Linked DNA regions of Homo sapiens: all the other regions are linked to region 1. Evidence: promoter capture Hi-C in 16 types of primary human blood cells and fetal thymus (Javierre and others, 2016). All regions are on one chromosome and are shown on one strand. Each heading gives the region's core, a stretch centred on a gene start or on the middle of the fragment in contact. The rest is flanking DNA. Distances are from core to core; before and after follow the strand shown.

The links. Contacts are between HindIII fragments. The CHiCAGO score rates a contact against its expected background, and 5 or more counts as called.
Region 2: a contact is called between a fragment that was not itself captured here and the fragment with the promoter of BRINP1 in region 1, in 4 of 17 cell types (M2 macrophages, M1 macrophages, erythroblasts and 1 more). The highest score is 11.4, in M2 macrophages.
Region 3: a contact is called between a fragment that was not itself captured here and the fragment with the promoter of BRINP1 in region 1, in 4 of 17 cell types (total B cells, M1 macrophages, M2 macrophages and 1 more). The highest score is 8.2, in total B cells.
Region 4: a contact is called between a fragment that was not itself captured here and the fragment with the promoter of BRINP1 in region 1, in 3 of 17 cell types (M1 macrophages, M2 macrophages and M0 macrophages). The highest score is 7.0, in M1 macrophages.
Region 5: a fragment that was not itself captured here is called in contact with the fragment with the promoter of BRINP1 in region 1 in 4 of 17 cell types (M2 macrophages, M0 macrophages, M1 macrophages and 1 more); the score reaches 15.9 in M2 macrophages.
Region 6: a contact is called between the fragment with the promoter of TLR4 here and the fragment with the promoter of BRINP1 in region 1, in 4 of 17 cell types (M1 macrophages, M2 macrophages, endothelial precursors and 1 more). The highest score is 11.3, in M1 macrophages.

The regions. Positions count from the first base shown.
Region 1 is chr9:119,367,293-119,371,559 of GRCh38, reverse strand. BRINP1 (BMP/retinoic acid inducible neural specific 1) reads left to right here and starts at 2,125. Exons shown (of 8, transcript NM_014618.3): 1 at 2,125-2,504. RefSeq lists enhancers at 1,161-1,681, 1,682-2,204, 2,205-2,726. The HindIII fragment of the contact is 7,485 bases long and covers 1-4,267 here.
Region 2 is chr9:117,625,411-117,629,677 of GRCh38, reverse strand. No RefSeq gene overlaps it. Among named protein-coding and RNA genes, the nearest start is that of TLR4, 77 kb to the left of the region's middle. The HindIII fragment of the contact is 7,902 bases long and covers 1-4,267 here.
Region 3 is chr9:117,605,631-117,609,912 of GRCh38, reverse strand. No RefSeq gene overlaps it. Among named protein-coding and RNA genes, the nearest start is that of TLR4, 97 kb to the left of the region's middle. The HindIII fragment of the contact is 3,809 bases long and covers 852-4,282 here.
Region 4 is chr9:117,474,572-117,478,947 of GRCh38, reverse strand. No RefSeq gene overlaps it. Among named protein-coding and RNA genes, the nearest start is that of ASTN2, 62 kb to the right of the region's middle. The HindIII fragment of the contact is 3,111 bases long and covers 624-3,734 here.
Region 5 is chr9:117,491,316-117,495,992 of GRCh38, reverse strand. No RefSeq gene overlaps it. Among named protein-coding and RNA genes, the nearest start is that of ASTN2, 79 kb to the right of the region's middle. The HindIII fragment of the contact is 5,715 bases long and covers 115-4,677 here.
Region 6 is chr9:117,702,433-117,706,660 of GRCh38, reverse strand. It overlaps TLR4 (toll like receptor 4), which reads right to left and starts at 2,258. Exons shown (of 3, transcript NM_138554.5): 1 at 2,096-2,258. The coding sequence starts at 2,188. RefSeq lists enhancers at 373-1,572, 1,688-2,188, 2,159-2,228, 2,239-2,288, 2,189-2,689 and 1 more. The HindIII fragment of the contact is 5,259 bases long and covers 1-3,117 here.

The sequences.
Region 1 (4,267 bases), core at 876-3,375:
CAAAGCATTAAGTCCCCACTTTCTAAGGTATGTAGACCACAACCCATCTTGGGAGATTGATTACAAGGAAAGGGTTAAGAAGAATCAGTCAGAACTTTGGTCTTCACCTGAAGTTGCCTGACTACGTTGTCTCAGATTGATTTCAGAACTGCATTATCAGCAGGGCAGCTGTTGCCTACTAACAGTCATGGAAGTAGATCTCAGCTGGGGGATGATGGGGAAACAAAGAGAAAGATAGGGACGAATAAAGGAAGGAATGGGGCACAGACAGAAAGAGAGAGAGAGAAAAGAAAGAAAGGAGGAGAGGCAAGAGATAGTGACCTGGGGTTTCATACCGCGGTGGGTGGGAGAAGGAGTGTGTGTGGTGGGCGTATTTCTTCGTGGTCAGAATCAAAGTCAGAACTGACCTGGGGAACCTGTGTTCAAGACCTGAACCTGGACCAGAAGCCAAGGGAAAGAGAAAGTTGCCCAAGAAAAAAGGGAGAAATTTCCACCAGGCGAAAATAGAAATCGCTGACTGGGTTTGTGGCTGGAGAGCTGTCCGTGGTGCTGACTCCTCCTCATTGGGATTCCAGTGAAGGCTGAGAAGCTCTGCACTGGCTGCTCCTCCTCTCCCTTTCCTCTCCCCTCAGTCCTGACCTTCTGAGACCCAGGATCATTCTGGCTAGCTCGATGTCTTCTCCTCTCTTTCTCCCTTTCTCTTTGTCGATTAAATAATTTTTCCCGAGTTCCCAGTTCATCACTCAAACATTTCTCTTCCATTTTGTTTCAAGACTCCTCTTCCTCCAATTAGTTCACTGGCTCCTAGATTGTTCTAGGCCTCCCTGGTGGTCACATCTCTCTCTTATCATCCTTTGAATTAAAAAACAAACAAAAAACATACAATGGCAATCATAAAAGCAGACAACATGCACTGAGCACTCACTAGGTGTCAGGGAGCAGTCTAAGTGCCTTTGCATACATTAACTCATGAGCAGTCTAAGTGCCTTTGCATATATTAACTCATTACAATTCCACATCAACCCTATTAGATGGGTAGATATATTATTATTCTATTAAACAGACAAGGAATTGAGGCTTAAGGGGTAAGTGATTTCACCAAGACCAGACAGCTACAGGACTCCAACCTCTCTGGAGCCTGCACTTCTACTGAATCTGGCTCTTTTACATATTCCAACACCTTTTCCTATGACTTCCTGCCCCTCCATCTGGTAGCCTTAATGCTTTCTATTCTTGCCTAATCTTCAGGGGACTAGGGATCTGCATTGCTGATTTGGTTTAAATCAGAAGGGAAGCAAAGTAAACAAACATACCAAATGTGCGCTGTGTGGGAATTATCATACGAGGGCTTTATTTTCTGCTTCAGGAAGAGGCCCTATGTTAGCAGCCCCAGCCTGCATTCAGGCTGATTGCAGAGTATTTTGCTTTTTATTTTCATGTCTTAGTCCCTGTACCCTCGCCCCTTCCCCGCCTCTGGTGGTCTCCAGAGAACTTCGTGTCCCCTCAGCTTCTCCCTCCTACATCCTGCCTACGTAGAGAAGCTCTTGCTTCATTCTGGGAGGTTACGTGGGCTCTCGCCTACACACCGAGAGAAACAAACAGTGTCAAACACTCACAGAGAGACGCGCAGACACAAACGGACCCACACGGGCAACTCCCGAGACAAAACCCACACTCGATGGATCCACGCGGCCGTGGAAACACCTGCCGCCCCAGAAACACTCAGGTACTCGCGACACACACAGTACAGTCACGCTTAAGGGCACCAGGATTCCGGGTTTGCGCGTATGCGCGGTCCCTTTGGATGCTCGTGCGCATAGACACAACACCCTACACGCCCCAGACCCACGAAACTCCCTACGGCTCAGCCCCAGCCCACCCGGGCCGCCCTTCCCTCGAGGCGGCCTCCCGTCTCTCCTCCTCTCGCTTCTCCTCCTCCTCCGCCTAAAGATGTACAAAACACTCCTCGGAAGCAACCCCGGCGTTCAGCTCCTCCCTCCCCGCCCCCCGGCCGCCGCTCCCCCATTCATTTTCGGCCGTCGCCGGCTAAGTCCCTCCCCCGGCGTAGCCCGGCCTCCGCCGCTCCCCGCCCGGAGACCGCGGCGCACTTGGACTTCCCTCTCCATTCGCCAGCCGCCTCGCTCCCGGACCCCACGGCTGCAAACTGATCTGGCGCGCGGGGAGGAGGAGAGCGCAGGCGAGCGAACCCGCGAGAGAGGGAGAGAGCGAGCGAGCAACAGCGAGAGCGAGAGCGAGAGAGCCGGGAGGCAGAGGGAGTAGTGACCGCCTTCCGGAGCCGGGATTCATGCCTGTCCTCGGGACCAGCGAAGGGGACTTTACGGCTGAGTATGAGCCAGGCTGCTAGGAGCCAGGTACCCCCACGCCTGCAGTCCCCGCGCCGTGCCCGGAATGCGAGCTGCACGCAGGGCTCTCCCAAGTTCCCACCGAGCCGAATAAAAAGCGTCCTCCCGCAGCTCTCCGCCAAAGACGGACATTGACTCCAGGTAAGGCGGCGCCGGGTGCAGCGCCCCGCAGCCCCGCTGCCCTTGGACCCGGCCCCGGGCCGCATTCGGGGCGTCCCCGCGCTCCTCTGCCCCTCCCCCTACCGGCACCCTTGTCCGCTCTTCACCTGGCCGCCCCGCCGCCTCCAAGTCTTCTCCAGTTCTAGGGAGGGGGTTCCTGTGCCTGGGGCTCAAAGGGCTAATTGCGGGTTTGAGTGAGTGGCGTGTGTGTCCCCGCGCGCTCCCGACGTGTGCACCATGGTGGGAACTTGATGTGGTGCTAGTGTGTTTGCGTGTGCGGCGTCGTTTGCGTTTGATGCGTGTGTTCGTGGTGTGTGTGTGTGTCCGTGTGTGTAAGGGAGGGGTGAAGAGAGAGAGGTCCTATAACCTACTTACGGCGCGATGTGTGTGTGCATGTTTGTACGTATGTGTTTGTATGTGTGCCCTCGTGTGTCTTTTTAATTAGGTCTCTCCAGCTTACACGGAATGGGACCCTTACTATAGGATCACGTAGTCACCGGGAAACCCGCTGTGGACTTCCTCTTGGGGCTCTGGGCTTGGGGTTTGGGGAGGATTATGGGGCTGTAGATGGCACCTTATTTAGCCCAATGTTGGTACGCTTGAAGGAAAATTCCTCCAAACGGTGGAATCCTGCTACACTGGGACCCACAGCTTAATATGAAAGAGACATGGCCAACCCCCGAGGCAAATGAGACGCTGTCACTTTAAATTCTACACTGGGCAGACTCCAAGATTCTGATGGGAATTTGGAGACACTGGATAGTGGGTGACAGAGAAAGGGGGAAGTCAGCGGTGGGCTCCTTATCTGGGGCTTGGAAAGTCTGGGATAGGGATTTACCCTGCATCCCCGTTTGCAATCAACAGAGCCCCTCCGGCTTCTGTTGGTTTTGGGGAGGATCTGGCAAGTTTGCATGGATCCCCCTCAGGGGAAAGGAGAAAGCGTCCTCGGGGACTTGCTCATCCATCACAGTTGCAAAGGGTCTCAGAGGAAATTTCATCTGGGGCGGCTGTGGATGATATGGAAGGAGATGGATGGGGCACTTTCCTAAGACAGATTCGTCTTTCTTTCCCCATTTCAGGCGGGGAAGCCCCCAGAGAGTCTCTCCCTAAATATGCCTCTCCATGGCTCCCCTGGAGTTAGGGGGATATTGAGAGAAGGCAGAGAGGTGGAGAGGGAGAGAGAGAGAGCAAGAGCGAGAGAGAGGGAGACAGAGAGAGAGAGTGTTTCAGTACTGAGGGAGATCTACAATTTGAAAAGGGGCTGTGAGTGTGGAACCCATGACAGAATGTGGCAGTAATTGACTTAAACTGCTGTCGGTTTGCACCTCGCGTCTCTCACTTGGCTCCAAAATACTGCCAAGGGCAGGGGGGCGGTGGAGGAATCTCAGCCAGGAAGGTAGTTTGGGTCAAGGCCCTCTTTCTTCTTTCCTCCATCTCCTGGGAGGCTCTTTAGGTAGGTCCCTTGGCCACCCTGGCTTGGTACTGTTGGGCTTGGGCTCTGGGGCCAGCCATTGATTTGATTCCCAGCTGCCTCTTAAAGGCTTGCCCTACTCAGCAAAAATGCTGAGTTTTACTGCTGTTAGCATGGCTTCCAGACTCGGCAGCTGTTACTTTCTCAAGGTAAGCGGCAGCCGTTCTGCTCTCAGGCAGGGAGGCTAGGAGAAGACAAGGGCTGTGACGCTGGGACACAGCCTCTTGTCTAGCTCAGCACGGAGGGGCCGCTGAAAAGCCCTCTTAGGGGAAAA
Region 2 (4,267 bases), core at 1,118-3,617, 1.7 Mb after region 1:
TAAGAATGTGGCCACTCAGGGGTAAAACACAGGCTAAGGACGGGATAAGAAGGCACATAAAGCATACCTATGTACATTTAAATGTTTGTCTTTTTTTCTAACATTTGTCAATTCATGTATGTTAAACACCCATTAGCATTATGCTAGGTGTTTTCCCATAAATCTCGTTTGATGATCTCTGCAATCCCACAGGGAATATTACCTTTATTTAATAGATGAGTAAAAATTGAGTTTAAAAATATTAATCATCTTTAGCTAGTATGATAGTAATTGATATATATATATAGAAGGCATACTATGGGTCAGTACTAAGTATGCAACTATTTTATATCATTTAATCTTCAAGATAACTATGTCATTAGATGCATTTTTTTATCATTGTTATATCAGGGACTATGTAGCTAATATTACCCTCTTTTTTTTAGGTGAGGAAATACAGAAGCGCTCAGAGTGGTAGATTTTGCTTACACTGATATAACTAGTAAATGGCAGATCTAGCATATGGACCCAGATATATTTCTTTCTTAAACCATTTCTGTTTTGTGACACATTATAAATGCCTTCAATTTAGTCATTGTCAAACTTTTATTTTATTTTCAGATGTTTAAAAAATTCTTCAAATCTTCCCTAAAACTCTTATAAAATGTGAAATTTTTAAAAGCCAAGGAGTTATCAGTAGGCTCATATTTCTGGGAGATGAGAGAGGGCAAGCCTGTGTTACCTGAACCTGAGATAGAGATGAAGAATCTCTTTCATTCCATTTGGAGGGAACACACTTAGATCCCAGGGAAGAAAGATGAGTATAATTCTATGAACTGGGCCCAAGTGTGATTTCAGCTTCATGTGGAATATTGAGAAAGCTGAGGCTAGAGAACTGTAAACATTTAATCTTAATTTTAGTAGGTGAATACATCAGTTTATCTTTGTTTCTACTCTGCTTTTTGAATGGCATGGTGAGGGGCAGATTGGGCATCACATAAGATTTGCATCTCTACTTAATCACTGGGTGAGCTTGATCTGATCATGCTAGGTTTCTGAGTCTGTTTTTTTCTTTCATTTGTAAAGTAAGACAAAGTCTAATCAAAGTATGTCTAATCATACTATAATAATGCAACTAAAGGAGTAAGCACACCAGTGAATTCATACCATCTCCTTATTATTTGATTGTTCTTTGCCTTCTCAAAAGGCTATTTCTTCAGGATGCAGCTGTTTTGACTCTCTTAGGAGACTACTTTCAAGTAAGCTCACTATGGCACATGCTATGGTTTCCAAGGAAGGGTTTATGTGGCAGAGGCAATGGTTAGCAGTAATAAAACAGGAAGACCCCTTAGTTTTCAGCACATTATTTCACAGATAGTGTTAAAAATCATTCTGAGCTTATAATTGAAACACTAGTTCCAGGGATGTAATTTCAATCCTTATATTTACTTAAGGACCCCAAGGTGAAGTCTCTTTGGATACAGATGATTTTATTCTTAAACAGAGAAAATAATAATATCTGTATAACGGGAACATTATGGACATCAAAGGAGATATTAGTAGGCAACTGCAGAGTTAACAGATCTTGGTTTTAATCCTGATTTTACCAATCTACAGTTTTGACTTAGCCCCTTTGTCTCTGTGAACCAACACCCACACCATCAAAAATAAGAGGCTTGCAACTTATGGTTAAATTTCCTTCTAGTTGATATTCTGTAATTCTGTGACTTGAACAAGGTCTCACCAAAGTAGATAAAGTCCAGGTTGTCGCCCTGCTAGTCTGGTGCTTTCTACTCTACATGTTATTTCAGCTCAGAGATTTGTACCTTGTGGCTTTAAGGAAAGTCTTCTTTTGAACAAAAGCTGCCTGCAATGGTATCTCCAAATTGCAACCCCTCTTAGATCTTGTGAAGATCCCTGGTTGATCTGTGTCTAAGAAAATTCACCTACCTGCCCAATCTGTGGTATTCTTTTGTCATGAAGTTTATCAGCTTTTGATTCATACTATACTGATAAAGAAAACATATTACTTATGTGTCAAAGGAGCTAGTTTCAAGTACCAGATATTCTGTTGTGTGAACTGTGGCTAGACTTCCACTCAAAAATCAACAACAGCAACAATAACAGATGCTAAGAGAGCATACATTAAAAATTCTTAGGCCTACCATGCAGGCAAAGTTAAAGGGGTAATGACTTGCTGATGGCACAGAAAATAGTTCAAGCCCCAAAACCCAGACATTAAGTTTGGGTGACATGGGTCAAGGAATGGCAGATTTATTGCCTAAATTAAGTTATTCCTGGGAACTGATGTAGCTAGAACTATAATATCCTTCAGTTTTAGTTTCCTTTGACCTGGGAAGCATATCACTTGCTCTGGTTATGTTAGTCAATGAACCATGAGTACACTTCTATGCTATGTAAAAAAAAATAGTGTGGATCCATGCCCATCACTTGAGTTCTTATCTCAAATAAATCATTGTCTCTACTTACAGAAACATTAGGAGAATCAACGCTTAAGCAAATGAATAAAATCCATGTTATCATTTACTCCCATTCTCAACCCTTGGCCTGACTCTGTGGTTTAGGTTAGTTCACTGAAATTTTTTTACCTTCTGTACTAGTTTACTACAGTACAGTTTCTTTACCTAATGTACAAGTTTACTGCAGATTAGTTTACTTCTAATCTGCAGTTATTATGTGTTCCCTACTCAGGATCTATTCATCTGGATTCAGCTATGCCTGAAGTCCAAATCTGGATTTTTTTTCTAAGTACATGAGCCATTTTATATATATTGCTTTCCCCAGGCCAGTTTGAGCTATATTCCTATTACTTACAATTGGAAGTGCATCTGCCTAAAGGAAACATTATCCACATTCTGAAAATAATAAATAATATTTGATCTTTCTAATTCATAGGAATGATAAAAATATCTGATAAATTAACAGAGCTTGATCACCAGCCATGGTTACAGCTCCAGAAACTATAGTGAGGGATGAGAATACGATTAAGAATATGACAAAGCTCTTCTCCGAGTAAAGCTCAGTCTGGTTGAGAAGATAAACTACAAATAACTACAATGTAATATTCCTGACCATAATTATAATAAAGTCACGAATGGAAATGTATTGGTTTTCCTAAAGAAGTTGGAAAAGACTCTACAGAAGAAGTGACATTTGAATTGAGTTAAAGGCGGATTAGAAGTTTTTCAGGTAAAGCAGTGGCTCTCAATCAGGGGCATTTTTAAAAGACTTTTATGGGTACATATGGGTGCCTATGTTCATGAGGTACATGGGATCTTTTGATACAAGCATACAATGTATAATAATCACATCAGAGTAAAGGAGGTATCCATCACCTCAAGCATTTATCCGTTCTTTGTATTACAAATGTTTCAATTATACTCTTTTAGTTATTTTAAAATGTACAATTAATTATTATTGACTGTGTCATCCAGTGGGTACAAAAATATAATTATATAGAATGAATAAGAATTAGTAGTATTTTTACCTCCCAGGGGATACTTTTTGTTGTCACAATTTGAGGTGTGCTATTAGTATCTAGTGAGACCAGGGAGGCTTCAAAAGGTTTTACCATCTATAAGCAACTCCCACAACAAAGAATGACCTTACCCAAAATTCAATTACTTTTAAGGTTGAGAAACTCTGAAGTAGAGATATTAAGACAAGAGATTCCGGAACAAGGTGAACATACAGCCAGGAGTCATGATTAGTTCAGAGTGATGGAAATGTCTCAATGCAGGGAAAATAGGTTGAAGACAAATGACAATTGATCTCTGAGTATAAGGGTTTGAACATCATCCTATAGGTGTGGGAAGCTATCAAAGTTCTTTTAAGGTTGTGATTATAAAGAAGGCTTTCTGAGTTTGAAATCTTGAAAGCAGAATCTTGAAACTTCTATAAGGTGACCCATTTCTTAACTGTGACTTTGAATGTGGGAGCCTACAGAGAATTTGTGAAAATACAGGTCCTTACAGGAGACAATCTTAGAGCACTGTGAGGCTAGGACATTCAATGGGTTATTAACATGATTACTGAATTTGTCCACAGTGACGCTACTGATACTGATATGAAGGAAACCACTGGATTTGACTTCCTTTTGAGAATGTTTATTGGATTCTGAGCCATGCAGAAGCCTTCCCCACAAATCAGCATTTTCCATCTCCCCTGTGTCATTTCTTCCCTCTCTTTGGACATTCTGCCAATTTGTCTTGGAAAAATTAAATACTTTCATAATCAGAGGCCAGTGACAGGTGCCAGATTGACAACT
Region 3 (4,282 bases), core at 1,507-4,006, 1.8 Mb after region 1:
TGTATTTTTAGTGGAGACGGGGTTTTGCCATGTTGGCCAGGCTGGTCTCGAACTCCTGACCTCAAGTGATCTGCACGCCTCAGCCTCCCAAAGTGCTCGGAGATTACAGGCATGAGTCACCGTGCCCAGCCATATATGTCACTTAGTAAAAATAGGTATACATTTTTGTTGAGTATGTATCTAGAAATAGAATTGTTGGGCCATAACATTTGCAGTTCAACTTCCATATATTTCCCTAGACTTCTTGTTGCTGCACAACATCTTTGACAGAATTGAATATTGTCCGTCTTTTTCATTTTGGCCATTCTGGTAGATGTGTAGTAGTATTGCGTTTTGGTTTTAATTGTCATTTCCTTGATGAGCAGTAATGTTGAACATTTTTTCATATGCTCATTGGCCATTTTTACCTTCTCTTTTGAATGACCTTTCATCCTTTGTCTTATTGACACCCCAATTTTTAAAAACTTACCTACAGTCAATACTCATTGCTCATGAATTCTGTATTTGCAAATTCTTCTACTTGCTGAAATTTATTTGTAACCCCTAAATCAATACTAGCACCTTTTTTGTGATCATTCACAGATATGTGCAGAGTGGCAGACCTATGAGTAGTGTGATGGGCATGTTCCCAGCTAGGCTTCAACAAGGTTATACTCAACATTCTTGTTGCACTCTCATCCAGTAAACTTGTGTCATTTTTGCAGCATATTTAGTGTCATGGTTTTTGCATTTTTGTGGGTTTTGTTGGTGATTTTGCTATTTATTTGCAGGCACAGTGCTGAAGTGCTGTCTACTGTTTCTAAGAAAGCTGTGATGTGCTCTGCAGATAAAATTTGAATACTAGATAAGCTTTGTTCATACCTAAGTTATAGTGGCATTGGCCATGAGTTCAATGTTAATGAATTAACAATGTATATTAAATATCTTTAAACAAAAATACACATAAAACAAGGTTATATATTGATTGGTTGATAAAAATGTTGTGACTAGAGGCTTGCAGGAACCTAACCCTGTATTTCCCTTAGGAGCACTGGTTCAATGTCTGCTAACTCAATGCTTGCAACAGCTTTATAGAACACAGTTACTGTGAATAACAAGGATTAAGTGTACTTGACATACATTTCCTCACAACAAACTTGTGGGTTTGTTTGAGTAGTCATTATGTCCTCATTTTACAAACAAGGAAAGTGAGGAGCAAAGAAGTACCATAGAGTTTCTAGTGCTCCACAACTAGCTAATTCAAATGCAGTCCTCATCTTCAGGTGTCTGATTTCCTTACTATGAGTTTTCTACAGTAGATTGACCTTCATGTTACTCTCTCTCCAGCTATTTTTTGTGGACTCCATAATAGGTCTGTCTGGACTGAATACACATTGAAACAAACTTCCATGTCAGTTTTTCTTCTTGAAATTTCTCTCTAAAGTAATGGGTTACAGTCTGGTGGTTGGCAATTGGTTACATAAGCAGCAGCTAAACAAGCTAGTACTGAACTCCAAGGTGAGATCTAGTACAAACTTCATCATTTGTAAGTCATGGGGCTTTAAACAACTTGGGCACTCTGAGTCTGTTTCCTCTATTTAACAAACATAATAATCTCTGCCCACCTTTCCTCATAAGGTTGTTCAGTTCATCAGATTCAATCAAGACAGGACAGGCACTGTACTAGTACATGGGAAGATACAAAAGAAAATAAACACAACTGTTTGCCTTAGGAAACTGTCAGTGTATTGAAAAAGGCAAAGGATGTGTATAAATAACTATAATAAATAATGTGTCAAATGTAGGAAAAGCTAAGGGTTATTGAAAGAGATGAGAGAAATATTTCCAACTAGCATGTATCTGGGATGGCCCCAAATCAGAGAAGGCAAAATATGAAGTGGGTCTAGAGGTAGCAGTAGTAATAATGATAGCCAACGCTTATGGAGTGTTTAACCCTTTGCATGCACCCTATCATGTCCATCTACAAGAATGAATTATGCTTAAATTTACAAAATGGAGTAAACACAGCAGGGTTTCTCAACCTTGGTATTATTGGTATTTGGGGCCATGAAATTCTTTGTTTGAGGGCACTGCCTGGCACAGTATAGGATGCTTTTCGGGATCGTTGGTCTTTACCTAATAGAAGCCAGCACTGCCCATCTCAAGTTGTGACAGTTAAAATTGTCTCTAGACATTGCCAGATGCCTTCTGGGGTTAAAAAAATCACACTGATTAAGAATCAGTGCTACACTGGCCATCAGAGAAATGCAAATCAAAACCACAATGAGATACCATCTCACACCAGTTAGAATGGTGATCATTAAAAAGTCAGGAAACAACAGGTGCTAGAGAGGATGTGGAGAAATAGAAACACTTTTACACTGTTGGTGGGGCTGTAAACTAGTTCAACCATTGTGGAAGTCAGTGTGGTGATTCCTCAGGGATCTAGAACTAGAAATACCATTTGACCCAGCCATCCCATTACTGGGTATATACCCAAAGGACTATAAATCATGCTGCTATAAAGACACATGCACACGTATGTTTATTGCGGCACTATTCACAATAGCAAAGACTTGGAGCCAACCCAAATGTCCAACAATGATAGACTGGATTAAGAAAATGTGGCACATATACACCATGGAATACTATGCAACCATAAAAAATGATGAGTTCATGTCCTTTGTAGGGACATGGATGAAATTGGAAATCATCATTCTCAGTAAACTATCGCAGGGACAAAAAAAACCAAACACCGCATGTTCTCACTCATAGATGGGAATTGAACAATGAGAACACATGGACACAGGAAGGGGAACATCACACTCTGGTGACTGTTGTGGAGTGGGGGGAGGGGGGAGGGATAGCATTAGGAGATATACCTAAAGCTAAATGACGAGTTAATGGGTGCAGCACACCAGCATGGCACATGTATACATATGTAACTAACCTGCACATTGTGCACATGTACCCTAAAACTTAAAGTATAATAATAATTTAAAAAAAAAGAATCAGTGCTACATAGTAATCCATGTGGTGTTCTTAGAAAGGTGTGGTTCTATGAGCGAGACAGGCTTGAGTGTTCAAATTCTACATCACCTCGTCCATTTTGAGATTTCTCTCATTCTATGTCCTCAGCTGTAACATGGAGGTAATAACAAGAATGATTATAAGTGAATGAAATAAGATATGCGAAGTGCTTTTTTTATGCAGAGTAGGCAGAGAAACATTGAGTATTATTTTTATTTAACCATTCAATAATCTAAAAGGGATTATCTCTCTCTCCATTTTTCAGAAGATCCAACTGAGCACAGGGAGGTTTAATGATTTGCCAAGTGTCACTTTGTTCTCAAAGCACAAAGGCAAGTGGGTCTGCCTGGATTGCTTTCACCAATAACACTGTTTTAATAAACAGAGGTGGGTTTGTCAAGCAGAGAGGGAAGTGGACTATAAATCAATCCAGGAGGCATTGTATAGGGTGGTGGCCAATAACTATTGTGAGGATCAAATGAGGTATTTTAGCTATAGCAAAGAGGGAGGTTTTTAATATTTTCATTAAGGAGATAACTTTGACTAGGTGGACAGCAAAGAAGACATGAATGGAGAAGAGTATATTTAAATTAAAAATTAGAACAAAATATAATTTTGTCAACTCTCATAAATATTTAATCATTTACAAAATAACTCTAAAAACATGCCTAGAGGTTTAATGAGTCACACCTTCAATTTTGGTCCCTCATCTCTGTCAAAAATGGATAGCTATTGTTAGCACATTTTATTTATTCTGAGATACCAAGCAAGTAAAAATGGAGGAAAAAATAAAGACTTTATTAAATGAGGCAATATACAGAACAATAGGGAATTTTGCTTTCATTTAAGCAAAAATAGGAATTCCTTGCATGTTCTGGAATGCTAAACTCTAGTCACAACTATGCTGACTGCAAGCTCTGTGACTTTGGTCACCTCTCCCAACCCCACCCCCATACCTCAGTGTCCCTGCATGTAAAATAGAAGGGCAGAATTGGACTAGATGCAGTTGAGTCCCTTTCTGCTCTGACATAACAAGAATCCATTTCCCCACACTTATGAACTCAGTGGCAGCTTCTCTGGCTGTCTGCTTTTTAAAAGGCCACTATGTTGCAGCCCTGGTTTGGCGGGGCACTGACCTTTTCAGAAGAGAAATGGCCAGACATTCTGTGCTCACTGCTTCAACCCGATGATCTGTACTGCTCCTTTCCTGATGAGAAACTGAGCTTTCTTCCTGCCTCTCGCCCTTCCTGCCTCCTACACTCCCACTCATCTA
Region 4 (4,376 bases), core at 930-3,429, 1.9 Mb after region 1:
TGCAGAAGGCAAGATGCCTGGTCTTTTGTCTCCAAATTCTATGTACTTGTCACATCTCCACACTGTTACCCACTCTTTTCTCGGTGTGTTAGAAGAACATTGGATGAGCCAAAGTTAGTGAGGGAGGCTGGTGTGAAGGTTTGCAATGGTTGCAGTGTTCTGCTTGCATCTTTGTGTCCCACCTAAGCTCAGGAAAGGAAAAGGAGGAGGGAAGCAGAGGGAGGATGAAGGAGAAATGCTGTGACACTTTCTAACATTGCAGGGTAGTTCAAGAGGGGTGCTAGAAGACTCATTCCCCAGACTCACAGCTTTTGAGCAGCCTTTGAGCTGCCTGAAGCTGCCCTACACTCAGTGACAAGTCGTTTTTAGAAGATAGGTATAGGAGAAAGAGAGCCACTATTGCATTAGGAAAACACTAAGTTGAGTCTTTCAATTTCCCCATCTGCACATGAGGACACTAATAATACTTATCTCCCAGGGTTATAGTTAGATTATTGAGAGGATTAAATGAAATAATGCATAGAATGCTCTTCTGAATAATTGTGTAGCTCCCTGCCTCTCTTCACTTCTTTACTCAGATGGCTCCTTTCAGCAAGGCCTTTCCTGTCCATCTGATTTAAGCTTCAAACACTACTTCCTTTTGTCCTTCCTGTTTCCCTTCTGGCTTTATTTTCCCCACAGAACCAACCTCCAACTAATATAGTAAATATTCTCCTTGTTTATTCCCGTGTCTACACCTTTCACAGGAAAGCAAGGGTGGCTTGTCTGTTTTGTTCATTGCTGTATCTCTAGTGCTTGAACAGTGCCTAGAACAAAATAGGCAAATAGGTACAAGTGGGCTGAAGAACAGATAGGTAAACAATAAGTGAAAATATATCATTTGTTTGTTTTGCATTTTCAGAAGTATTTGTTATATGATCAAAGTCTTAGCCCAATTTTTTTTACTATGTAGTACATGAATATTGTCTCACTAAAAAGAAATAAAAAATTAACACTATGAGCATAGAAAATAAAATATACAAATGATTATGGCCAAAAGGACCTTTATAAATCTCTCTATTCCACTTCTTCGGACAAATAGCCACTGTTTACTCTTAGCTGTATAAACCATCATATCTATCCTATGCAGTCACAGGTGTATTAACAAGTATAGTAATAAATATGAGAACACACATTTTCATAATACTATATGCCAAGCACGGTTCTAAAAATTTATGTGTATTAACTCACTTAATCTCTACAGCAATGCTATTAGACAGGTTTTATTTCTACCCAAAATGACAGGGAAGGGAACTGGGGCATAGTTGCTATTTCTTTAATATATAAATAGAATCATATTAAATCTATTAGCCTACAATGTGCTTTTTCCATTTCAAACAAGTTGTAGGTAAGTACACCTTGATATTTAAGGTCAGAATCCATTTATTCCTTCCATAAGCACTTCAGATTTGTAGAGGGCTTTAATTTCACCCCAGCCACTTACTGGTTTTGTAATCGTGTCTTCAGTCTCCACCCCCAAGGGTGCTGAATTGAATGATGTCGAAACTCCTTCCCTAACCATGCATGATCTTGCTCTGCAGCATCTCCCAACTCCTCACTTACCCTGGGATTGGGTGCAGGCAATCTCCTCTATTCCCCACCCCTGAGGTTAATTCCACTGATAAATTCCCACAATGCCCTTTGCTCCCTTTGCGTCTTTTATTTTTTTTTTCTTGGAGACTGAGTCTCGCTCTGTCACCCAGGGTGGAGTGCAGTGGTGCCATCTAGACTCACTGCAACCTCTATTTGCTGGGTTCAAGTGATTCTCCTGCCTCAGTCTCCTGAGTAACTGGGATTACAGATGTGCACCACCACGCCCAGCAAATTTTTGTATTTTTAGTGGAGATGGGGTTTCGCCATGTTGGCCAGGCTGGTCTCAAACTCCTGACCTCAGGTGATCCACTCGCCTCGGTCTACCAAAGTGCTGGAATTATGGGCGTGAGCCACCACACGTGGCCCCTTTGTGTCTCTTATTAGCCTCAGTATTTGATTCCTTCCTCCCTTACACCAAGGAATGAATCATTTTCTGCTAAATGGGAAGGTTGGAAGGTGGGGAGATCATGACTTCAAACATTCTTTAAAATCAGCAGGTGCCCAAGGAAGTCAAGCAGGGAAAGCAGTTGCTGCGATTTCTGCTTATTTGCTGTTTTCAAACCAAATGTTCAACCTCTTTGAGCCTCCAGTTTCTCGTATGTTAAATGATAGTAGCTCCCATCTTACCACATCACGCGTTTGAGGTCTATTATTTTGGGAGAATTTTCATAATCATGAGTTATAACAGTCCCTCACACTAATGATTTGCATACTGTGATTTGCAACTTACACAGTCCTTATTGAAGAGAGTTATTTCCTAGACTTCAAATATCAGAGGTGAATCTTATTATGGATAAATAGATCGAGTGGTTTCCAAACTCTCTGCTTCACCCACTCTGGCAAGAAGAGTCCAGAAGGCATAATGGCAGTCCATGAACTCTTTTCAATATTTCAAAAATGCTAACGGGAATCATATATCTCCCCAATAAAATCAGACTTTAATTGCTTTTGGTGGGAATTATATCAACTAAAATTGGTACTTATTGGAAAACTAATTATCCTCAAATAAATGTAAGTTGGTAGACATAACCTCTTGAAATACTGGGAATCTATGGAGAGAAAAGTCACAGAAGGAAGACTTAGTAGTGAAAAGATGGAGGGTCTAGACCACAGGGACACCTACATTTTACAAATGAACCCCAAGAAGCAAGTTGTACCCTGAAATTCTTACTTCATCTTCTTTCCCACTCCTTCATTAAATTAGGCCTCATCTGTCCTCTACTGGTATTATGTATGCACTAGTCCTGGCTAGTTTCAGTCTGTCCTGCCCCTTGCAATCTGCCCTTCAAACTGCAGAATTCTTTTCTGCAGTTAAAAGGCCGACAGAGTGGCCTTTTTGGTATTCACCTTTCCTATTCCCCGATGAATTGATGCTCTCTGATGACTCCTCATTGATGTTAAAAGAAAGGCACACTCCTCTACCTAAAATACAAGATTCTTCATGCTCCAGCCTCACCATATTTTGAGATTCCCTATGCTCCAGCCACACCCAATGATGTTTGGTTACTGAATGCACCAGGCCTTTTCACTGCCAGTCTGTGTCTTTCAACACGCTGTTCCCTCTACCGAATGCCATTCCTCTACCTGTTCACCTGCTAACTTTGACTTTCCATTTTCAGCTTCATCACACCTCTTCCAGGAAGTCTTCACTGTCTGCAATCCTTTACTCCAGGATGGATCAAGTGCCTGCTCTGAGCTCTTCATTCCATGCTTCATTCTTGCAAGCACTTCTGTTACTGCATTTCTATCTTCTCAGTAGATAAGGAATTGTTCAATGAACATAAATTCCCCTGGCAGAGCCAGGAGTAAAATGCGAGGTCTTCTGACTGCCAGTCGTAGGGCTCTCTGTGTTGCAGACCATTGCAAGGCCTCTGAAAACTTCAACCACTTGGCCTTTCAGTAGAGTCCACATTTTGAGAATAATGTATCTAATATTGAATGTATTAAGGAAAAATGTTTACAAATGCCAGAGAGGAAAGAAGGCATACCTTTAGGGACCTTAGCACATAGATTCTGTCCTCCAAACCAGAAGCATATAGAAGAGGTTTCAGGGCAGAAGCCAAAGTGGAAGCACCTTCCAGGCAGAGGCACTGGAAGAAGCTTCACTACAAATAGTGTTCAGGTACAAACAAGGCCAAAGAGACACCACCACTTGTGTGAGAGAGAACCCTCTCTCGACAAGTTGGGAGGCCTTGTTCCCATTATGCCGAACTCATTCAAAGTATGTTTTCAGGCTGGGCACGGTGGTTCATGCCTGTATTCCTAGCACTTTGGGAGGCTGAGGTGGGCAGATCACTTGAGGTCAGGAGTTCAAGACCAGCCTGGCCAACACTGTGAAATCCCATCTCTACTAAAAATATCAAAAAAAAAAAAAAAAAAGGAAAGAAAAAAAAATAGCCGGGTGTGGAGGTGCACACCTATAATCCCAGCTACTAGGGAGGCTGAGGCAGGATAATTGCTTGAACCTGGGAGGCGGAGGTTGCAGTGAGCCAAGATTGCACCACTGCACTCCAGCCTGGGCAACAGAGCAAGACCCCATCTCCAGAAAAAAAAAAGTTTTCTTCTGACTTTGTGCTTTCTGAGATCCATCAAGTACAATACTGGGCAAGGAGGCCAACATCTCTCACCTGCTTACAGGTTGATATGGTTTGGCCCTGTGTCCCCACCCAAATCTCATCTCGAATCGTAATCCCCACGTGTCAAGGAAGGGGCCTGATGGGAGGTGATTGGATCATGGGGGCGGC
Region 5 (4,677 bases), core at 1,723-4,222, 1.9 Mb after region 1:
TTAGAGGGTGAAGGGTTGAAGGAGGGAGAAGATCATGAAAAATAACTAATGGGTACTAGGCCTAATACCTAAGTGATGAAATAATCTGTACAACAAACCCCCTTGACACAAGCTTACCTATGTAACAAACCTGCACATATATCTCTGAACTTAAAGCTAAAAAAGAAAAAAGGAACTGAGGGTGGCTAGTGAGGAAGTGAAGCCTTTAGTTTAATAGCCTATGAATAACTAAATCATATTAACCCCTAAGTGATCCTAGAAGGGAATCCTTCTTCAGACAATCCTTGAAATGAGACTACAGACCCAGCCAAGAGCATGATCACAGCCTGTTTGAGACCTTGAAGAACAGGACTCATCCAGTCATGTCCTGTGGTTACCACGGGGATTACTTTAACATCCTAAAGTTATAACATTTTAATGTGTTAACTTTGGAAATTTTCCTTCAATAACGCACAAAAACTCTGCTACTTTACAGCTCTATACCCACCCCTTTTAGTTGATGTCAAAAAATTACATCTTTAAACATAAACTTAGAATCCTCTTACATGCATTAGTCTCTTAAATTATGCAGAAAATAAAATATGAAATTCCAAACCAAAGCTACAATCATACTAGTTTTTAGACCAGTAACTTTTTTTAAGGTATTGGTCTCTTCAATCATGTAGAAAATAAAAAGTAAAGTTACAAGCCATTGTTGCAATAATACTAGCTTCATTTACCTTTATTAGAATCTTTATTTCCGAATATGGCTTCAAGTTACTGTTTAGTGTTGTTTTGTTTCAACCTGCAGGACTCTCGTGAGCATTTCTTGTGAGACAGGCTAGTGGTCACAAGCTCCCTCAGTTTTGCTTTTATCTGGGAATGTTTTAATTTCTCCCTCAGTTTTTAAAGGACAGTTTTGCCAAATATAGGATTCACGTCCTGATTCATGACCCACAGAAACAGTGAAATAATAAATATGTATTGTTTTAAGCCACTGAATTTCGGGTGATTTGTTATGCAGCAATAGATAAGTAACACAGTAGCTTTCAGCACAGTTCCTACTGTTGCTCCTGCTGCATCTGCTGTTGCTACTGTAATAACAGTAAAAGTGAAAGCAAATCCCCGGGGCTTCAGGACACAAATGCAGAGTTAACCATCCATAATCTCCATGTTTTTGTTGTGCCTTCTGTTTGTCTTAAATTCATTCAAAATTTCAGCATTGGCTTTCTACTCCTTCATATAACCATGTTTCCTTTTAAAGGCTTTAATGTTAAATTAATTTCCCCCACCTCAAATCTCCAAGTGGAATGGTCATTTTAGGATCCTGTGTCTTATTTATTTCTAAGCATCCTTTACCAATAACATGCAATTCAAACAAATGTAGCTTGGAAATGGTGCCAGCATACACTTGAAAACTGGCTTTGTTTGTGTGACCAGAGACAGAGCTTACTGTCTTCATTTATAAAATGGAGCTAATTCTCCTATCCTCATAGTCTTGTTTTGAAGATATAGTGAGAGAATATCAAGTGCCTGAGCAGTAAGTGTCAACAATAAAATTTCATTTCAAATCTCTCTTATGCATGAATCACAGTATCTTGGAACATTATGGATCTTAATCTGCCATAGGAAATTACATACAGACATAAGAAAACTATATCAAAACTGAAAAAGGAAAATAAATGTCCCTAAATTCACAATAATCTTTCTTTTTAGGTTATCCTGGAACTTCATTTCCATAGAATTCTATATACATTTCAGTACATTCTTCCTCAAGGATAAATATAACAAATTATTTACTCCTCAGATGGCCAAGGGTGGCCACACATTGACATATTTGGACAGAAACTGCCCCACATCTGCTAAGATTTCATGGCCTCAGATTAAACAACAGTAAAGGAAGTTAAGGCTTGGGGACATTGGCTTCAGTAAGGACAACTGACCAGTCAATGCAAAGTGCCCAGTGGCCTCAGAAAGCTCAGACATGGTTTAGCAGGCCTTAGGGTACCATCCCAGCAGGTAGCATTAATTTAGCCACTTGGGGATGTTCCCAAATCCAGGTCAGCCTTCTACTGATGGTGGGACCACAGTGAGTGGTTTTGCTCTCTGGGAAAAGAGAGTAGTAAGAGCTAGGCAGTGTTGTGTATCAGAGTGCTCCTCTAACTTCCATATATTGACAATTCACCTGCAGCTATCGTTGAAATGCAGATCCTGATTCAGTAAGTTTGGGGTGGGCCTCAGGCACTTGCACTCCTAAAATGCTTTCAGGTGAGGTTGAGCAGCTGGTCCATGAATTGCATTTTGAATAGCAAGCGTGTAGTAGAAGGGACATTGATTTGAAGTCAGGTAGACATGGGATTGAAAATCTAGCTCAACCATTTATTGTGTAACCTCAGGCAAGTCACTTAATTACTCTGAGCCTAACTCCTCACCTGGAGAATAATTTTATCTCCTAGGATTGTTGTAAGGATTAAAGAAAAAATATGATTGTAAATGCTTAGCTAATAATTCTAGCATGATAAATCTTAAAGAAAAATTTCTACTACATCTTATGCTTCTATTTTCGCCCGTCCCTTTAGCAGCTAGTTTGATTGGTCGTTCCTCCAAGAGATTGAATTTGCCATGTTCACCAGTGGGCAGGGTTACTTCCTGCTCTTATGGGGTAAGCATATCTGGGTACATTTTGCCTCCTTGGAGAAAGATAAGCAAGTCTGTATACCTAGATCGTTTCACTTGTGCCTACAACTGAGTAACTCAGGTTACAACCTACTTTGCAGATGCAGCCTCTTTTCATTTACAGAAAAGGATTAAGTAGACCAGCTTAGATGTCTAAGCCTCATATTCCAAGTAGGCTTTTACCAAAATTCATCATTACAGGTTATTGGGTGTTGGTTAAATTATTAATAAAGAAGAGCTTTGTCTCCCGTATGTATCATTTCCCTTGTGTATACAGTCACCTCAGTGAAGAGCCATCCAGGTATACAAGCAGCAGGATAGACTCCGAGCATTTACCCAACTCCTGGCTTAAAATATTTTAATTTTTTCCAAACCTTGCCCTGATCTCTTCATTGTAGCTGCCATCATTCCACCACCACCACTTCTGCTATCATCATCATCATCACCACCACCACCCCAGAAAGAGCCAAACCCAATTTAATTCAATTCAATTTGAATTGAATTTACTGGGTCTCTGAAATATACCGAATGCTGTGGTTCTGTCCTCTGCATTTGTGTCAATGGATGGCCCGGGTTCATTTGAACAGTTTAAGTGGGTTGGACATACTTGTACTAGGCACTGGGGATACAATGGGGAACCAATCCCTGCCATCAGTTGCTCATAGGGATGAAGAACAATGGCCTAACTCAGAGACTAGAGAAAACGTGGGTCACAAGGGGTGATGCTCATTAGTGAATCCAGTGTCAGAGGGCAAGAGGGGAAGGCAGGGTTGCATACAATTACATCTCACTGAGTTCCCCCCTAGTTAAGAGCTGGAGTAGGGGAAGGAGGGTGCTGGCCATGGATACAGGCAGCACCAGGAGATCTGCTCACACTACCAACAGAATTCTTATCTGGTTTGGAAGTTATCTGAAATTAAAATCATGCCTGACATATGAGGCCCTGGGAGAAATGCATTGTGCCTTTCTTACCTGAGATTATCTCTGTCTAGTTCCTGTGCAATAAGGAGGCTGACAGGGAAAGCACGGTTGGTACCCTTTTCTCCCTGGCAGGAAAGTCATCTTCCTCTAAGCCATGGCTTTTGGAGAAAATTTTTCTCGGGGTGGCATTCCTGCTAAGAAAGTGAAACACTGGCTTTTGTTTGGAAGAGGTCCTATCTGTATCCGGACCTGGAGTAAATGTCATTTGTCCTGGTCCCTAAGGCTTCACTTGAAAGTAGCATGGTGGCTCTTTATGGCACCATGCTAGTCATTTATACATATATTTTCTTATTCTTGCAAAAACCTATAATATAGACAAAACTATGAATCCTGCTTTACAGCTGAAGGTACTGAGTCTCAGATGGTACAGAGACTATTAAACACAAACAAACTTTGATTCTAACTAAAGTCTTTTAACTCTGGCTCAATACGGAAATGACAAACTTATCTTTCCAACTTTTATTTTGGATTCGAGAGTACACATGCAGGTTTGTTACATGGTATATTGCATGATGCTGAGGTTAAACTTAAAGGGCCAAATAGCAAATATTTGAGGTTTGCAGGCCATAAGATCACTATAGCACCTACTCAACTCTGTCATTGAAGTGTGAAAACAGCCACAAACAATACATAAACAAATGAATTTATAGCCGTGTTCCAGTAATGTCCCATTGTGTTTATAATACAGGCAGCCAGCTCATAGGCCACAGTTTGCAGACGGCTATTGTAGAATGCTCTTTGGACTCCCGCCCTTGATACCTGGTGATAAGTAAGGTAAACAGGCAAATAAGCATTAGTGACCTCTGAGTTCTCATTCTGTCCAACAAATACCTTGTGACCCAGGCCTGTTCCCAGGTCCTAAGTCTCTCTGTTTTATTTATGTCAGACATAGCCCACATCAGTCATTGATTCTGCCATATATTTTTATTTGGGCATGGACATCACGGTAGAACATAGATCACACACTCCTTACTTAGCTTCATGGTACAACCCATTATTTAATTTTAAGATTGTATCACATATATAGAGAATTTGAGGTCC
Region 6 (4,228 bases), core at 1,009-3,508, 1.7 Mb after region 1:
AAACATGTCCTAAGGAGAGGACAACGTGAGCACGTAAAGAGTGGAAAACAAACTCAGATTAGCTGGTGAGTGGTGGGAGTGGTGAAATCTAAGTAAGAGGGCAAGCCAGATCAGGAGGGCCTCAGACTTTGTCCTGCAGCAATTATTTCAATCATTTATCACTTACACATCTAGCGGCTACTGTGTGCTGGCCACTGGAAATATAGTGGTAAATAAAACCAGCAATGATCCTGCCTCCTTACCGATTCCATTACAAAGGGAGAGAGAGAAAATAAACAAACAAAAATATAAAATGTTGTGCTCTAGAAAAAAAAATATTAAGCAGTATAAGGGGATTTGAGGCAAATAAGTGAGGCTGGAGAGCTCTACATGGGGCAATCAAGGAAGACTGCCCTGAGGAGGGGACATTTAATCAGAGATCTGAATGGAGTGATTAAAGCATGAAAAGGACTTGGGCTGCACTGACCAATACGGTAGTCACTAGCCATACACAGTTATCAAACACAAGAAATGTGAATAGTGTAAATTGAGAAGTGTGGTAAATGTAAAACATATACTAAATTCCAGACTTAGTACCAAACAAGGAATGTAAAAATATCAATAATAGGTAAATATATATTAAAATTTTAAACATTATTTTAAATACGCTAAGTTAAATAAAACTATTATCGAAATTAAATTCACTTGTTTCTTTTTTTAATGAGGCTACTAAAAACTTTAAAAGTACATATGTGGCTCACATAATATTGCCAATGGATAGCACTGATCTAGCATTCTAGGTAGAAGAAATAGCCAGTGCAAAGGCCCTGTGGTAGAAAGCTGTTCTAATGGCAATGGAGAGTTATTAAAAGTTTTTAAGGAGAGTAATTTGTTAGATTGAAGCCTAAGGAAAAATAATAACAACAAATGCAAGTACATAACAAACAAGAACGTGCAGAATGAATTAAAGGAAGAAGACTGGAATCAGGAAAGCAGTTAGTGTGTAAGAGTCAATGCCAGGGGAAATGAGGGCCTGCCTTACAGTGGAACTAAGGGGATGGGCAGGGATGGACAGGCTTCAGGGACTGACAGGAAAAGGTACATGGGGAAAAGAAGTCAAGTTTGGCTGTGGTTTTATCTCGCAGTGAGCCTAATTAGAAAATCTATCTCCATTAACCTAACAGCAGAGGGATACAGAGAAGAGGACAAGGAGGAGGACTATGGGCAGGGAATTGAGGGAAGGGATGGCTTCAAGATAATGAATTAGTCTTTGCTAAATATTACTTGATTTTCTCCTATATCCTCAACTTCAGGACTGCAGCTGGCTTTTTCTCTCTTGAGTTTCTGACCCTGCCTCACTGTAAATCATTTTCTTAGCTGTTCGGCTCTACTATGGGTTTCTAAAGCAACTGTGAAGTCTGCGCAGGGGAAAAACAAAAGAGATCCATCATGAATAAGATTACCAACCAGCTGATTGGTATTTCACTAAGAAAGAAACTGTTGCATTAGCTGACATTATACATATTTCCCTCTTGCTTTTTTCTTCTCTCTCTCTCTCTTTTCCTTTTTCATTCTCTTATTTTTTTCATCCTCTGGACTAAACTATATTACTGCATACAGAAGTCTGACACCCACTTAGAAAGTTCTTTCTCTAGAGACACACACACAAAAGCCATCTTTTTCCTGAGATTGAAAGGAGCAGGGTGACTGCTTGAAGCTGAGTGTAAAGACCACCAGTGGGAAGAAATGACACTGAAGCAGTCTGCTTACTCTCTAGTGAAGAAGGTATTATAATTCTCTTACAGATGCGAAAACTAGTCTCAGACAGGTTTGATAATTTCTTCACAGAGCCACAAGGTAGCAGAGCAGGGACCTTAAGCAGATCTATGTTATCTCATGCCCCTGTTAGCACTCAAAATTTCCAAATGGAACAAACCCCCAATGGCTGCCTCTAGTGCCCTGTAACAATGAATTATTTGATCTCTGTGGCTTCTTGAGTCTTTAAGGTAATTTAACTCTTTTTTTTTTTTGCAAAAATAAACAAACCAGGGCACACAGTGAGAAGTTCTGGGCAGAAGTGAGGGAAAGTTCAGAGGAGCTGACTCCAGCCACATACCTCCACGCAGGGCTCCCAGCTTTCTGGTCTCACGCAGGAGAGGAAGGCCATGGCTGGGATCAGAGTCCCAGCCAGGCGCGAGGCAGACATCATCCTGGCATCATCCTCACTGCTTCTGTGAGCAGCAGTGGCCCTGTGAATGCGTGGCTCGCTATCACCGTCTGACCGAGCAGTTTCTGAGGCACTGGTGTCTTCTCTTCCTCGAGCCGCCCCACAGCAATTGGTGTATTCAAAGCAGTTCTGGGCTAAAGGGTGAGAGGAAGTGAAAGCGGCAACCTTAGCATTCTGGACTTTTGTTTCTCTAATAGTTATCTCTTTTGTCACAGGAGAGGAAGTTAGAAGAAGAAAACGCCTGCAGACCAGTGGCTAAAGAAACAGCAAGAGGAAGCTAGTTGGCTTTTATCCCAATTAGTCATCTGACCTCTGCCTGGGCTTGGTGAATTTAGGAAAACAATCAGGTTCTATTAAAATAGCCCTTGTAACTCTCTAGGATGACGGTGATTTTCCAATTTTGTTTCAGCTGTGGAAACACTATTTGTATTAGTTTGCTGGGGCTGCCATAAGGAAATACCACAGACTGGGTGGCTTAAACAACAGACATTCATTTTCTCACAATTCTAGAGGCTTCCAGTCTGAACTCAAGGTGTCAGCAAGTGTGTCTGAATTCTAATCTCCCCTTCTTATAAGGACACCAGTTATGTTGGATTAGGGCCCACCATAATGACCTCATTCTACCTTACATACCTCTTTCAAGGCTCTCTCTCCATATACAGTCATAGTCTGAGGTAGAGGGGTTAGGACTTCGATATGTAGGTTTTTGCAGGACACAATTTGGCCCGCCCCTTCTTGTGAAGAAACTCACATACAAAACTGAAAATAAACCTCAACTGAAACACAGTTTGAAAAGTACAAGAAGATTGGGAAAAGTCTGGGATTTCAGAATGGAATATACTGAAGTTCAGATCTCAGCTGGGTGACTCATGGCTTTGAGGCATTGGTCAAGTCATGTAAACCGCTAAGCTTTACTTTCTTTCTTTTCTTTTTTCATTTTCTGTATTATGGTAAAATCACATAACATAACATGACATAACATAAAATTTATTATCTTGACCATTTGTATGTGTACAATTTAGTGGCATTAATTATGTTCATATTTTTGTACAATCATCACCACTATTCATTAATAAATAACTCCCCATTTCCCCTTTCCCTAGGCCCTTGAATCTATGCACTACTTTTGTCTCTATAATCTTGACTACTCTAGGCAGCTCTTAGAAGTGGAATCATACAGTATGTATCTTTTTGTCACTGGCTTATTTCACTTTGCATAATGTCCTCAAGGTTCTTTTCTGTGTAGTATAGATCAAAGCCTCCTTCCTTTTTAAAGCTGAACAATATTCCATTGTATGTATAGACCACATTTTGCTTATCCATTTGTCTGTTCATGGACACTTGCATTGTTGCCACACGTTAGCTATTGTGAATAATGCTGCCATAAACATGGTTGTACAAATATCTCTTAAAGTCTCTGTTTTCAATTCTTTTGGATACGTACTCAGAAGTGAGATTGCTGGATCATGTGGTAAATCTATTTTTAATTTTTTGAGCACCCACCATATGATTCTCCACAGCATCTGTACCATTTTACATTCCCACAAATGGTGTACAGGAGTTCTCATTTTTTCACATCTTCACCAACACTTATTATTACTTTCTGGTCTGTAAAATGTGGTAATCACTTTTAATCATAGCAGAAGCTTGCATTTATAAAATGTATTAAAATAAAGATACGCAATGGTAGTCAAATTATACAAACCTACCAACCTTTAGTTTTCTGGTCTTTAAAACGAAGATAATCGCATGTGTTTTGAATTACTGAATTAAGCTAACTTACGTAAAACGTCTAGTCTAGAGCATCATCATTACATTCCATAAATGAGAGCTATGATGAGGATTGAAAATGTGGATAGAATGAAGATGATAATATGTATCTCAAAGTATTGTATTGGGATTAAATGAACTGGCATTTGTAAAGCTTTTAGGACAGTGTCTGGAAAGTAGCAAGTGCAATGTAAGTTTCTGTTAAATAAGAACCTGATTTAAAACAGGAATATTATGCATGCTAAGTCCTAG